Linked DNA regions of Homo sapiens: regions 1 and 3 are each linked to region 2. The links are contacts of gene promoters, found by promoter capture Hi-C in blood cells and fetal thymus (Javierre and others, 2016). All regions are on one chromosome and are shown on one strand. The core of a region is centred on a gene start or on the middle of the fragment in contact, and the rest is flanking DNA. Distances in the headings are between cores, read along the strand shown. Region 1 overlaps LINC02320 (long intergenic non-protein coding RNA 2320). Region 2 holds the start of DLK1 (delta like non-canonical Notch ligand 1). Region 3 overlaps LINC02320 (long intergenic non-protein coding RNA 2320).

What was found. The method cuts DNA at HindIII sites, captures the fragments that hold promoters and counts their contacts. A CHiCAGO score of 5 or more calls a contact.
Region 1: a fragment that was not itself captured here is called in contact with the fragment with the promoter of DLK1 in region 2 in 2 of 17 cell types (M1 macrophages and M0 macrophages); the score reaches 5.8 in M1 macrophages.
Region 3: a fragment that was not itself captured here is called in contact with the fragment with the promoter of DLK1 in region 2 in 7 of 17 cell types (endothelial precursors, M0 macrophages, fetal thymus and 4 more); the score reaches 10.3 in endothelial precursors.

The regions. Positions count from the first base shown.
Region 1 is chr14:101,654,569-101,659,058 of GRCh38, reverse strand. The region is part of intron 1 of LINC02320 (long intergenic non-protein coding RNA 2320); the gene reads left to right. Among named protein-coding and RNA genes, the nearest start is that of LINC00239, 74 kb to the left of the region's middle. The HindIII fragment of the contact is 3,632 bases long and covers 265-3,896 here.
Region 2 is chr14:100,724,337-100,728,908 of GRCh38, reverse strand. It overlaps DLK1 (delta like non-canonical Notch ligand 1), which reads right to left and starts at 2,017. Exons shown (of 5, transcript NM_003836.7): 1 at 1,774-2,017; 2 at 450-513. The coding sequence starts at 1,840. The HindIII fragment of the contact is 10,517 bases long and covers 1-4,572 here.
Region 3 is chr14:101,628,486-101,633,310 of GRCh38, reverse strand. It overlaps LINC02320 (long intergenic non-protein coding RNA 2320), which reads left to right. Exons shown (of 6, transcript NR_184269.1): 4 at 196-405; 5 at 725-898; 6 at 3,907-4,825. Among named protein-coding and RNA genes, the nearest start is that of DIO3, 69 kb to the right of the region's middle. The HindIII fragment of the contact is 1,032 bases long and covers 1,281-2,312 here.

The DNA.
Region 1 (4,490 bases), core at 831-3,330, 930 kb before region 2:
AAGCGTACTAGTGCAAGTTTCCTATATTAGACGTGAAATGGTATAATATCTATCATTAAAGGTAGATTGTGATACATTAAAGATGTATACTGTAATTCTTAAAGCAATCACAAAAATAATAGAACAATGAGACCTACCAAGCCAAAAAAGCAGATAAAAACGACATAATAAAAAATATTCAAGTAATCCAAAAGAAGGCTGAAAAGAGGATAAAGATAACAGAGAACAGATAGAACTAATGGAAAACAAATAGCAGGATAAGCTTAAGTCTAATCAAAATTATAAATACATTAGATATAAATTATCTAAACTTCCAATTAAAAGTTACAGGCTGGATAAAAAAGTGAGCCAAGCATCTCCTGTCTATACAAAATGCACTTTATTTTATTTTTAGTCAATTATTTCAAAATTTTAATTAATTAAAGACAGGTTCTCACTATGTTGCCCAGGCTGGCCTTGAACTCCTGGACTCAAACAATCCTCCCACTTCAGTCTCCTGAGTACTGGGACTACAGGCGTGCACTACCACACCTGGCTCAAAATGCACTTTAAATACAGAAATAGATGAAAAGTAAGAGAATGAAAAGCAGTATGCCATGCTAACACTATTCAAAATAAGCCTGGAATAACTGGATTAATATAAAAAAAGATTTAAGGCAGAAGATTTTTACCAAGGATAAGGACACTAATTTCTTTCTCTCTCTCTCTCTCTCCTCTTTTCTTTTCTTTCTTTTTTTTTTTTTTTTTTTGAGACAGGGTCTCGCTCTGTCACCCAGGCTGGAGTGCAGTGTTGCCATCTCGGCTCACTGCAACCTCCGCTTCCCGAGCCAAGTGATCCTCCAACCTTAGCCTCCTGAGTAGCTGGGACCACAGGCATAAGCCACCATGCCTGGCTCATTTTTGTATTTTTTGTAGAGACAGGGTTTCTCCATGTTGTCCAGGCTGACCTTGAACTCCTGAGCTCAAAGTGTTCCACCCACCCCAGCCTCCCAAAGTGCTAGGATTACAGGTGTGGGCCACCACAAATGGCTAGGAAGCCAATTTCATAATGATAAAGATTTCAATTCACCAAGAGAACAAAAACAATTCTAAATGTTAATGCACCTAACAAAAGAGCTCTAAAATGCATGAAGAAAATCTGATAGAACCAGAAGGAGAAATAGACACAGTGAAAATCAGAGATTTCAATACCTCTTTTTCAATAATTTTTGAGAGCAATTAGATAGAAAGTCAGTATGAATATGAAAACTTGAACAATGCTATTGATAACTTGAACTAATTGACATTTATAGGACACTCTACTCAACAACAGGAGGACACACTTTTTTAAAAATACAGAATGTTTACCATATTTGACTATATTGTGAGCTATAAAACAAATCTCAACATATTTAAAATGATTCAAGTCATATCAATACAGGCATACCTCTGAGGTATTGTGGGTTTGGTTCCAGATCACCACAATAAAATGGATATTGCAATAAAGTGAGTCACATGATTTTTTTGGTTTCCCTGAACAAATAAAAGTATGTTTACCCTATTCTGTAGCTTTCAAGTGTGCAATAGCATGATATCTAAAAAGCAATGTACATATCTTAATTCAAAATACTTCATTGCTAAAAATGCTAACTATCATCTGAGCCTTCAGCAAGTCATAGTCTTTTTGCTGGTGGAGGATCTTACCTTGATGTTGATGGCTGTTGACTGATCAGGGTGGTGGTTACTGGCAGTGGTTGTGGCAATTTCTTTCTTTCTTTTTTTTTGAGATAGGGTCTCACTCTTTACCCAGGCTAGCATGCAGTGGCACAATCATAGTTCACTGCAACCTCAAACTCCTGGGTTCAAGGGATCCTCCCACCTTAGCCTCCTGAGTAACTGGGACTACAGGCATGTGCCACTGTGTCTGGCTGATTTCTTTAATTTTTTTGTAGAGTCAAGGTCTCTTTTTATTGTCCAGGCTGGTCTGGAACTCCTGGCCTCAAGTGATATTCCCCACTTGGCCTCCCAAAGTGTTAGGATTACAGGCATGAGCCATTGTGCCTGGCCCAATTTCTTAATATGAAACAAGAATGAAGTTTGTCACATTGATGGACTTTTCCTTTCATGAAAGATTTCTCTGTAGCTTGTGATGCTATTTGGCAGCATTTTACCCACAGTAGAACTTTCAAAATTGGAGTCAGTCCTCTCAAAGCCTGCCACTGTTTTATCAACTGGGTTTATGGAATATTCTAAATCCTCTGTTGTCATTTCAACAGTGTTCACAGCATCTTCACCAGGAGTTATTCCATTTCAAGAAACCACTTTATTTGCTCAGCCATAAGAACCAACTCCTCATCTGTTCAAGTTTTCTCATGAGATCGTAGCAATCCAGTCACATCTTTAGGCTCCACTTATAATTCTGGTTCTCTTGCTATTTCTATCATATCTGCAGTTCCTTCCTCTACTGATGTCTCGAACCCCTCAAAGTTATCCATGAGGGTCGGGACCAACGTCTTCCAAACTCTTGTTTTATTTTGAGACAAGGTCTCACTTTGTCACCCAGGCTGGAGGTCAGTGGTGTGATCTTGGCTCACTGCAGCCTCGACTTCTGGGCTCAGGTAATCCTCCCATCTCAGCCCCCAAAGTAGCTGGGACTACAGGTGCACGGCACCATAGCCAGCTAATTTTTGCATTTTTAGTAGAGATGGGGTTTTACCATGTTGTCCAGGCTGGTCTCAAACTCCTGGACTCAAGCCATCCGCCCTCCTCAGCCTCCCAAAATGCTGGGATTACAAGCACGAGCCACTGTGCCCGCCCAAACTCCTGTTAATGCTGCTATTTTGACCTCTTCCCATGAATCACAAATGTTCTTAATGGCATCTAGAATTGTGAATTCTTTCCAGAAAGTTTTCAATTTACTTTGCCTAGCTCCATCAGGGGAAGCATACCTACGGCAGCTATAGTGTTATGAAACGTGTTTCTTAAATAACAAGACTTGAAAGTCAGAATTACGCTTTGACTCATGGGCTGCAGAATGGACGTTGTCCTAGCAGGCATAAAAACATTAATCTCCTTGTACACCTCCATCAGAGCTGTTGGTTGACTACAGGCACTGTCATGAACAGTAATATTTTGAGAGAAATTTGAGCATGGGTCTCAAGAGTGGCTTTAAAGTATTCAGTAAGCCATGCTGTAAACGTGCTGTCATCCAGGTTTTGTTGTTCCATCTAGAGAACACATGCAGAGTAGATTTAGCATAATTCCCTAGGATTTGCAGAATGGTAAATGAACACCGGATTCAACTCAAAGTCACCAGCTGCATTAGCCCCTGCCAAGAGTGTCAGCGTGTCCTTTGATGTTTCAAGCCAGCATTGACTTCTCTTCTGTAGCTATGAAAGTTCTAGATGGCATCTTCTGCCAATATAAGGCCGTTTCATTTACATTGAAAATCTGTTGTTTAATCTAGCTGCCTTCATTAATGATCTTAGCTAGGTCTTCTGAATAACTTGCTGCAGCTTCTACATCAGCACTTGCTGCCTCACTTTGCACTTTTATGTTATGGAGATGGCTTCTTTCCTTATACCTCATGAACCAACCTCTGCTGGTTTCCAACTTGTCTTCTGCTGCTTCCTCACCTCTCTCAGCCTTCATAAAATTGAAGAGAGGTAGGGCTTTGCTCTGGATTAGGCTTTGTCTTAAGGGAATGTTGTGGCTGGTTTTATTTACTCACAACACTAAAACTTTCTTCATATCAGCAATAAGCCTGTTTCACTGTCTTATCCTTTGTGTGTTCACTGGAGTAGCACTTTCAGTTTCTTTCATGAGCTTTTCCTTTGCCTCCACAACTTGGCTGTTTCTGATGCAAGAGCCTAAGTTTCAGCCTATCTCGGTTTTTGACATATCTTCCTCACTAAGCTTAATTATTTCTAGCTTTTGATTTAAAATGAGAGATGTGTGATTCTTTCTGTCCCTTGAACACTTAAAGGCCATTGTAGGGTTATTAATTGACTGAATTTCAATACTGTTGTGTCTCAGGGAATAGAGCGACACAAGGAGAGGGGGAGAGATGGGAGTATGGCTGGTCGGTGGAGCAGTCAGAACACGCAACAGTTATCGATTAAGTTCGCTGTTTTACACGGATGCAGTTTGTGGTGCCCCCAAAATAATTAAAATGGTAACATAAAAGATCGCTGATTACAGGTCAACAAAATAGATATAATAATAATGAAAAATTCTGAAATATTGTGAGGATTACTGAAATGTGACACAGAGACTTGAAGCAAGCACATGCAGTTGGAAAAATTGTGCTGATAGAGTTGCTTGATGCAGGGTTGCCACAAACCTTCAATTTGTAAACAACACAAGATCTGTGAATCTCAATGAAGCAAAGTGCAATGAAATGCGAAATGTCTGTGTGCTGTTTCACCACAGTGGAATTAAACTAGAAATCAGTAGCAGAAGAATCCTTGGAAAACCCCCTTATAATTGGAAACTAAACAACATACTTGTAA
Region 2 (4,572 bases), core at 768-3,267:
GACATATGAAGAGGGCAGGGGTAGAGAGGCAGCTCAGGCTACTTTCTGTGGAACCAAGGACCCTTGGGGGTCTTTGCACAGTGGCAGCCGGTGGTCCTGGGAAGTAAACACCAGCCACCTGAATGGGAAAACTTAAAGAGAAAACATGCCAAGCTGAGGGGGCCGACTTGGAGGGGCCCCGAGATCCCGGGGGAGTGCTGCGTTTTGCCGCAGTGGCCTGCAGTGGTCCCACCTGCCCCCCCACCTCTGAGAACGCAGACAGGAGCTGTGGCTGCCCCCCCCCCGCCCCCCCCATCTCCCCAGCTCGCCCCACCAGTTTTCTGCAGGGGCCCGGAAGCTGTTTGCTGCAGCGTAGTGGCCAAGCCCCCTATTTTTTTCTGCCTGACTTCACGACTCCCCAGGCTTCTGCGTGGCCCCTACAAGCTGCCTCTGAGGAGCCACTCTATTACCTGCAAACATTGTCATCCTCGCAGAATCCATTTTGGGGGTTGCAGGCCGGGAAGCATTCAGCCCCTGAGGTACAAGAAAGGTTATACAATTCACCCCACCAGGCCCCAGGCCAAGGCAAAGGCTGTCTTCGCCCACACAGCCCACCACTGCCCTCGAGGGCACCAACAGCCCTCTTGGGTCCTACCAGCCTGGCACACAGTAGGCACTTCCTATCCGAGCATGGATGGGGCTCAGTGCACTCAGGAAAAACATCTCTGCCACGTTCCCAGCAATGAAATGACCACAGTACACTCTCCCTCGTTCTTAGGAGCAGGAGAAACACCTTCTCCTCGGACTCCCAAAAGCAAATACGACACCTCAAGTCCTCCTAACAGCGGGGACGGGGACCGTGGAGGGAAATATGTTGAGCCCTGGGCATGCAGCCTGACCGTCACTTTTGCAACCTGAGCTGAAAAGAGGAGCAGATTTTGAGGTGTTCAACTCCGGGAAAGCCCAGACAGGTTCACCTGGTGGGCGCCCCAGTAAGGCGTCTGCATTCTTTTTAAGGTTCATCCCTATTAAGCCGGGCACCCAGGTCAAATCTTCCCTCTTTCCCCTACCCCAGACTCTTCGCATTAAAAAAACGATGACGACACAGGGTTTTGCTTAGCGGGCTGAGGTTGCAACAACACTGCTTAGAGATTCTGACACTTTAACAGGCACCTACTGTGTGCATTTACTCAACCAGCTCCCCAGCTTTCTAGACAGCCCCCTTACAACCACTGGTGCAATGAGTGGGGGGGCGCTGCAGGAAGGGGGCAACTCTCTCGCTGTCAGAGACAGATGGCCGCTGCAGACAGAAGTGTCGCAGCCCCTCACCTACAGAAACGCGCCACGCAGGAAGGGCTCAGGCTGGGCTTCTCTGGGAATTGGGGGCTAAGACGGCAAAGTCGTCCCCCACTCCCGCCCCGAGACCTGTTCCAGAACGCTCACACAGGGACACCCCAAAGTTGCACCCCAGAGTATTTTCATAGAAGACTCCACAACAGCACCCCATTTTTCCATACCTCCTTGCTCAGCGCACCGACACCCCTCTGGCGCCACTTCTGCAGGGCGGGAAGGGGCTGGGGGTCTCACACATCCCCTGCGCCCTGGGACCCCTGGGACGGGCCTTGGCATGCGAGCGTGGTGGGTAGGGCGAGACAGGCACAGCGCGGGGCTTAGGGCTAGGCGGGACGGGCGGAGTTGGGGCTCACGAGACGGGGCGTGCGGGGCACCGGGCGGCCGGCGGGGAGTCGCAGGCTTCCCCAGAGGGGGCGCGAGCCGGGCCGCCGGGGAACTCACCATAGGTGCTGTGGCCGAAAGCCAGCAGGAGCAAGAGGACGCGCAGGAGGGCTTCGGTCGCGGTCATCTCTGGGCGGCCGGGGTCGCGGTCCCGGGAGCGGTGCGGGCGCGGGTCCGGCTCCTGGCGCCGCACTGGGCTTCTGGTTGCGGACGCGAAAGGGGGCGCGGGCGCGCAGCGAGGGGAAAGCCAGGGCTGCACCGGGCTGCGCGCTGCGCTCTCCACCGCCGCTGCCGGGGAGCTGCCGCCGCCGCCGCGCGCGCCGCCCTTTTCGTACCGCCTCCCCCCTCGCGGCCCCCGCCCCCCGCCCCCGCCTCCGTGCGCACGGGGCCGGCGCCGGCCAGTCCCTGTGACCCCCTCCCCTCGCAGGGCCGCCCCCGACCACGGCGGCGTCCCAGAAGCCCGCTCGCGCACACGGGTGCACTCTTGGCTAGACGGGCACAGGTATCCCGCGAGCGTTTGGTACACGTTCCCTCACACTGTACAGCACGCGGCCGCCGCGCACATACAGGCCTGCCTAGGACAAGTCGCAGGAATCGAACCTGGGCCGCAGACCTCCCCGGAGAGCACAAATCCGCACGCAGGAACACCGAAACACTTATCGCTGAAGTCCCGGGCACACGTGCAATGGTTAGATACCCAGGAAAACACAAAGGCGCACTATGAAGATGTGAACTAAGCACATAATTACACACGCACACAGAAAAACCCCCAGGAAAAGCCCGACGCCCCCTGTACCCCTGGCCATGAAGACGCAGAAAAATGCAGTTGCCCCGTGGCAACCCACACCCCGCAACGGAAACGCACACGGCAACTCAAACACACTGTAGCCCAGACGCCGTATAGACACAGTCCTAGGTGGCAGAGGGTCAAGCGGACCTGCGGTTACCCAACCATGGGCATCCTCCCCCATGTGCCGACCCCCTGCACACAGACGCTTACGCAGAGCCACCTGCACACCCAAACACGCAAACACACGTATAAACAGACGGACACCCGTGCCCGCATTCAGTCACACCCACCCCCGCACACACAGCATCTCAGTCAGGGCCTTAGCCGCGCTGAAACACAAATGCACCGACTCTTACGCACACATGTACGCACAGCCATGCACCTGATACCCACAAGCACACATACCCAGCTGACTCGTGGTCACACACACTGACAAAAACATATACGCAGTCCCCACACACACACGATCGCATCTGTCTTTGTCCACAGTGGCATGCATGGGCAGCCTCACCAATGTGCTCTCACATACACACAATAGCACTCCAGGCACTCGGCACGTATTCCAGACTCACTGGGAGACCTTCTCTGAGGGGTCGCCCGCTGGAGAGGTGGAGGTAGAGGATGCTGATTGCCAGAGACCCTCTTCCTCTGCAGAGCTCCCAGGGAGAGGGAGTGCTCCTCAGACACCCCTCCTCCCCATTGCCCCCGGCTTAGGCTTAGAGCCCTGCTGGAGAGGAAAGCTCTGCACCCCTGCACCCAGTCTGGATGGGGGAGGCTCAGAAAGATAGGGAGGGAGAGGGGTAGGAGGGGATTAAAGATATTTCACCTCCTGGGGGAAGGGTCCCAGGCGTCCCAATCTTTGGGTGGGTCGTTTAGGATACTTAATTTGCATATATTAATTTGCATACATATCCTAGATGCAGGGAGTGGGTGCCCACCCAGCTCGCGGCCTCCCCTTCTTCACAGTGCTGCAGGGGGGTGTGATCTCACCACTGTGAACCTGGAGGCTGGATGCTTTGACCTCCTGGCCCTCTAGTCCAGCCCTGGCAGGTCTGAGCACAGATTTCCCATCTTAGCCATAGATGTGGGAAGGCAGGCCCATGGGCATCCCCAGGCCCACCACCCCTAAGTCAGTGCTCCAGTAAGGCACTCGGGATGGGTACAGGGATGGACAGAGACCAGAGCTGCTCTGGGCTGGCTCCAAGGAGGCTGGAGGGAAACTCCCAGCCCCTGGTGGAAGATATCCCTTCCCTGATGTTATCTGCAGAATGCCCAGATAGGTAGGGGCTGCTGGGAACGGCTTTGGGGACAGGCTGTAGGGAGCAGTTGGGGTGCCCACTGTGTGCCTGCCACATGCCCTTGCATTCCTGTGACCCTACTTTCTTCCGTGGACTCTTTCCTCAAGTCAAGAAACCAACTTCAGTGATGGAAGGTCCTTTGCCCAAGGCCCTTGGCCTAGAACGAGAGTGTCTGGCTGACAGGCCCAACCCTGGGTGCCAATGTCCACTGCATGGTGATCGCCAAGGTCTTCCTGACCAGGGTTCCTCTCTTCCCTCCCTTCGAGGCCCCTGACTTCAGCCTCCAAAATTATCCCAACAGCAGGCAGACCTGGAAGAGCTGAGTTCTCAGCCAGAAGCCAAGGAGGGGTGGAGGATCTCAGGGCTGGGTAGCCCTGGGGCAAGGGCCTCCCAGGCTCTTGCCAAAGTCCCGCAGAGAGGAGACTCCCTGGACTGCATGGAGCACTTAGGGGGCCCCAGTGTCCCCACCCACACACATACCTAGACTCCTCCCTTCCCCATCCAGGTTCTTCCCCCTTCCCACCCCCGCCCCCAGCCCCACCACAGCCCTCCCCAGTTTAGGAAAGGGAGGGAGGCCAGAGGAGGGTATTCTCGCCCAAGGGAGTCTGTCAAAATGTCACAGGCTTACGCTGAAAGGGCACTGCCTTGGCTTGGGGGGCACCTGCTCTCTAATCCTATCTCCATTTCGTGCCCACCAAGGGCCCAGTCTCTTCCATCTGTGAGCCCTGTTTCTTAGCCCATAAACAGGAATGTCCCACCTGTCTCTGAAAG
Region 3 (4,825 bases), core at 547-3,046, 900 kb before region 2:
GAGTTCATACCCACTGAATCACGACCCCCTTGTGGCTAAGCCCTGGTGCGCCACCCTGCAAAATCAAAGGTGGTGTCTAGGCACAGAAATGGCTCCGTGACCTATGTCCCCTTTGTTCTAATCTAGAATCCAGCCAGGAGTATGCGTGTCAGAAGCCAGGGGTGATTGTGTTTTTTCTCCTTCCTCTTTCTTTAGGTCAGGAAGATTCCTGCAGCTGCTGAGTTAGTACTTTTAAGAAAGTACTGGATTCCCTCTCACAATGGGACTTTGATTTTTTTAAGAAAAAGGTTTCATAAGTTTTCAAATAACCTGGAGCAGTTGAGCAAACTTAATGTGCAGCGTGGTCCCTGCTGGCTGGGTTTGAGGGGCTGGGTCTCTCTGAGTGGATGCTGGTGAGGTGCAGAGGTGAGTGAAGGCTTATCCGGGAATGGAGGAGAAGGGGACAGCCTGGGGAATAAAAAAGAACTTTCCGTGAGACGCTGTACCTCAATGCTAGATAATGCCAGGCTGGGCTTTTGCTAGTCTTAAAAACTACATCACGCATGTTATAGGCAAAGGCCGGCAGCCCCTCCCAGGGAAAGCCCTTTGTTTGAGTCCATAGAGACCCCCTATTGCAAGGGCCCCTTTCGTGATTTTTGAGGGGTCTGCAGGAAAAGAGGGCAGAGGTCGTAGTTTGGGGATCGCTGGTGACCATGCACCAACTTTTTTGTTGTTTCCATCTCAGGAAGAAGAAAAGGTGCCTGAGGGCCTGTGTGGAAGGCCTGTCACACAGCACATCCTGGGAAATCTGTCCAGGAAGCAGCCAGGCGGGCATCAGCCAGGCGGGCATCAGCATCTTCACTGTGCAGATGAGAAACTGAGGCCGCAGAGGTGAAGGGACATGCCCAGGATCACTAAGGCAAGACGGGGGAAGAGCAGAGATCTTGGGCATGATCTCGGCTCACTGCAACCTCCACCTCCCAGGTTCAAGGGATTCTCCTGCTTCAGCCTCCCAAGGAGCTGGGATTACAGGTGCCCGCCACCACGCCCGGCTAATTTTTGTATGTTTAGTAGAGACAGGGTTTCACCATGTTGGCCAGGCTGGTCTCGAATTCCTGATCTCAAGTGATCCGCCTTGCTCTGTCCCTTAGGGACCTCAGCTTAGTGTTCCACACACTGGCAGATCGCCTCGTTCTTCTCAGGGCTCAGTGTTTTCCTGAGTCTGAACCACGATCTGGGTAGCCATCCCCTGGCGAGGACCATTCGGGGTTCCAGCAGTCACATGCCACGGTAAACAAGCTTCGTAAACATCCCACGACAAAGGTGGGAGAGAATCCCAGTAGGGACAATGACTACAGGTGGAATTGCTGGGAAAAAGTATGTCGGTTTTAAGTGTTGATAACTGGTCCTTTATTGGTCGTGGTCATTCATTCTTCTGCCAGGCGGGGCTGGTGTTCCTATATCCTCTCCTCACCAACAGAGCGTCTTATGTTTATTTGTTGGCAACGTGGCAGGTGAAACATGTACCCTGTCATTAAAAAAAATTATACTTGGCTGGGCACGGTGGCTCACACCTGTAATCCCAGAGCTTGGGAAGCTGAGGTGGGTGGATTGCTTGAGGCCCGGAGCTCGAGGCTAGCTTGGGCAGCACAACGAGACCCTGTTTCTACAAAAAATACAAAAATTAGTGGGGTGTAGTAGTGCACGCCTGTAGTCCCAGCTACTGGGGAGGCTGAGGTGGGAGGATCACTTGAGCCTGTCTCAGAACAAACAAACAAACAAACAAAAATAAGAAAAAAATACATAGTTTTAAAACAGTTTTAAACACATTTGGGAAAATATAGGCAGTAGAAATAGCAGTTGTGCTGTTAATGCCTCAGACAGGGCTGGGCTCGTAGTAGGTGCTCAATAAATATGTATTAAGTAAGTGAATAAGGAAGAAAATCCCATGGCTCTGCCAACAAGAAACACTTCTGTCAACATTTCACTGTGTTTGTTTTCCTGAGTATTTTTTCCTCTACATAATTTAGCTTTGTTTTCCATTCATTATGCTCACCCGTGCAGACACAGTTTTTAATCTTGTTTCTTTTTTTTCACTTCACGTTGTTGACATGTGTGTTTCTCTCTTCTAAGCAGCGTTTCAGCATCTCTATAAAACCCTCACAGGTATGTGAACCATAGATCATTTGAATCGTCTATTGTGCTTTTAGGCTGTTTTCAATTTTTCTTTTTATAAATGATGCAGCAGAGTATCTTTATGCAGAGACCGTTTCCATACTTCCCCCTGTGCAGAAGGAAAAGTAGGCAGAAGAAAGATTAACTTGGTCAAAGCTTTTAAAATCTGATTTAATACTTCTTAAGAATGATGCACCTTATGAAACAACTTTATATCTGTTGAAAAACCTAGTTCTTTTTTTAATATTGTTTTAAAAAATGACTTGTTCTGAACAATATCCTGTGCCTTTCAGAAGACAGCGACGGATATGAAAGGAGATTTGTTCTCTCCAAGCTCTTAGGAGGCGATCTGGCTCAGGAAACAGACACATCAGATCCGAGCATGTATCTGATGGTTGCTATGGGAACAAGTCATTTAACAGCCACTCAGCTAAAGCATTGATCAATAAGGAAGGGGGCAGGAGGGAAATAAATTAGTTGGTGTCTGAATAGCCCTGAGAGAGAGCAATAATGCGTCCCCTTCCCATGGCAGGGGCCCGGGCAGGAGGCAGGGGCGAAGTCTCGTCCATCCACGCTGGGATGTGTGGGGTAGGAGGGCAGAGGGGGCAGAGAACAGAATCATATTGGGGTGAGAAACCTGCTCCCCAAACCAGATATGGGGCAAGTGAGGCCTTAGACAAGGCTGGGGGCAGGGCTCCCAGGGATGGGGGCACGGCTGGTCCCGCTTCTCCACGCTCCTGTGATGTGCTTGCCGGGCCTGCTGGGATACCCTGTGGCACCCCATCGCTCTAGTGGGGAGTTCCGGTCTAGAGAGGAGCCGTGACTCCTTCCAGGCACATGGTCAACCCCACTTGTCTTCTGGGGGCTCCCAGCCTGGCAGGGGAGAAAGGCAAAGGCCCTCACGGGGTCGTTCATTGATTCATCCACAAATACTTCCTGAGCCTGTCTGAGGGACCATGCTCAGGCCTGGGCAGACAGCAGAGACCCAAGGAAAGAACAGAACTTGGGCTCTGGGGCCAAATCGTGGCTCGGCCACTTGGCAGGCTCTTCACCTGTAACGTGTTGAGAAAGTGACGTAAAGTCAGAGCCAGGAGTGGGCATCCTGAGTGCTCAGCTGCCATTGCTGGGACTCATAATCGCAAGGGAAGGCAGAGACAGAAGTGAGGGTTCCTAAGTGGAAGGTACTCATAAAGCCTTGGCTGAATACGTATGGCTGACACAGGGGTGTCTGTGTTTGCCACCAAAGGGTGGCCCTGGGCTGGGATTACACACGGAGAGAAGGCGGGAGGAAAGTCAGGGAGCCTCAGACCATTGGAGGCTGCATCTATTGACCTCTGATCCCCACAGGCATGGGTGTGGGTGTGGGTGTGGGTGTGGCTGGCTCAAGGGTCAGTGCCCACCAGAGAACTGGACCATAGATGAGCTGGACTTTTCCAACCCTGCCAGCCTGGGCCATCTCAAGGGTGCTATTGGTTGTGAGGGGAGGAGGCCCTCTTTTCTGAGTCCCTCCCCAGATGAGTGCAAGCTGGGACACATATACGAGAAGGATCCTAATAACATGCATGCCAAAATCCTGCTGTCCCAGCCTTTGGTTCCAGCAGTTTGACTTCTGGAAGTCTTTCCCAAGGAAATAACCTTGAACCCACGGTGTCTGCTGTAGCATTCTTCATAAGAGTGACTGCAAACAACCTCTAAGCCCCAAATCATGTATTGGTTAAAAAAATAATGATTCCTTTTCTTGCTTTAACTCAGGTGATCCCTAGAAACACAGCCAGTGGCCCGGAAGCTGCACTGTTTTGTGCACCGCAGGGATGGGCACAGATGGGGCTGCCTGCCCTCCTCCTGGAAGGAGGGAGAACCCAGTCTGGCCTGGAGTGGTCAAGAGCTAACTCTAGACTCAGCAAGACCTACTTCTCTCTCCTGCCCCTACTTCCTTGCTGCTGACCTGGGCAAGTCGCTGAAGCCTCTCCGTGCCTCAGTCTGCTCGTGCGTAAGATGGGCACAGGGCACACTGCCTACTTGATTGGGCTCAACCACGTGCAGTAAGTAGCTGGTGTCTGGCAAGAGCCCTCAGGAAACAGTAACCCCATTAATTCAAATGCACGTGCCTGGAACAGGCTCTGGGGGGCCAGCCCGGGAGTCCCACTCCATGATGGCCACCCTGGGGCCTGGCAGGCTGGGCTGGCATCCCAGGCCCACCGGATACTGGCTGTGCACCCCGGCCAGGCCACACATCTCTGAGCCTCACTTTCCCGTGTGTGAGATGAGGCTAGAAGCTGCTTTCTCTTGCGTGTGTGGGGATTGGCGGTGACAACACGGCCAGGAGCCCAGGCCCAGCCTACGCGAGCAGCCTCGCTCCAGGCCACACGCCCCACTCCTGACAGCTCTGTGCAGCGAGTTCGTGCGCGAGCGGGTGGCTGTCTGCCAGGCGAGGGGCGCGGGTGCCCAAGAGGGCTTCACTGCTTCTGGAAAGATCACAAGGAAAAACCACCTCCGCGGCGGGACGCTACCCGCGGGCCGCTGCGGTCCCGCTCGCGGCCGGCAGGGGGCAGGATGTCCCCGCGAGTCGCCCGTGTCTTCGGGTGTCCTCAGGTCACCCCGCACCGCTCGCAGCCTCCGCGCCTAGTTAAAGGGCGACGCACTCATTTCTGCAAAGAAGGAGCCCAGCGGC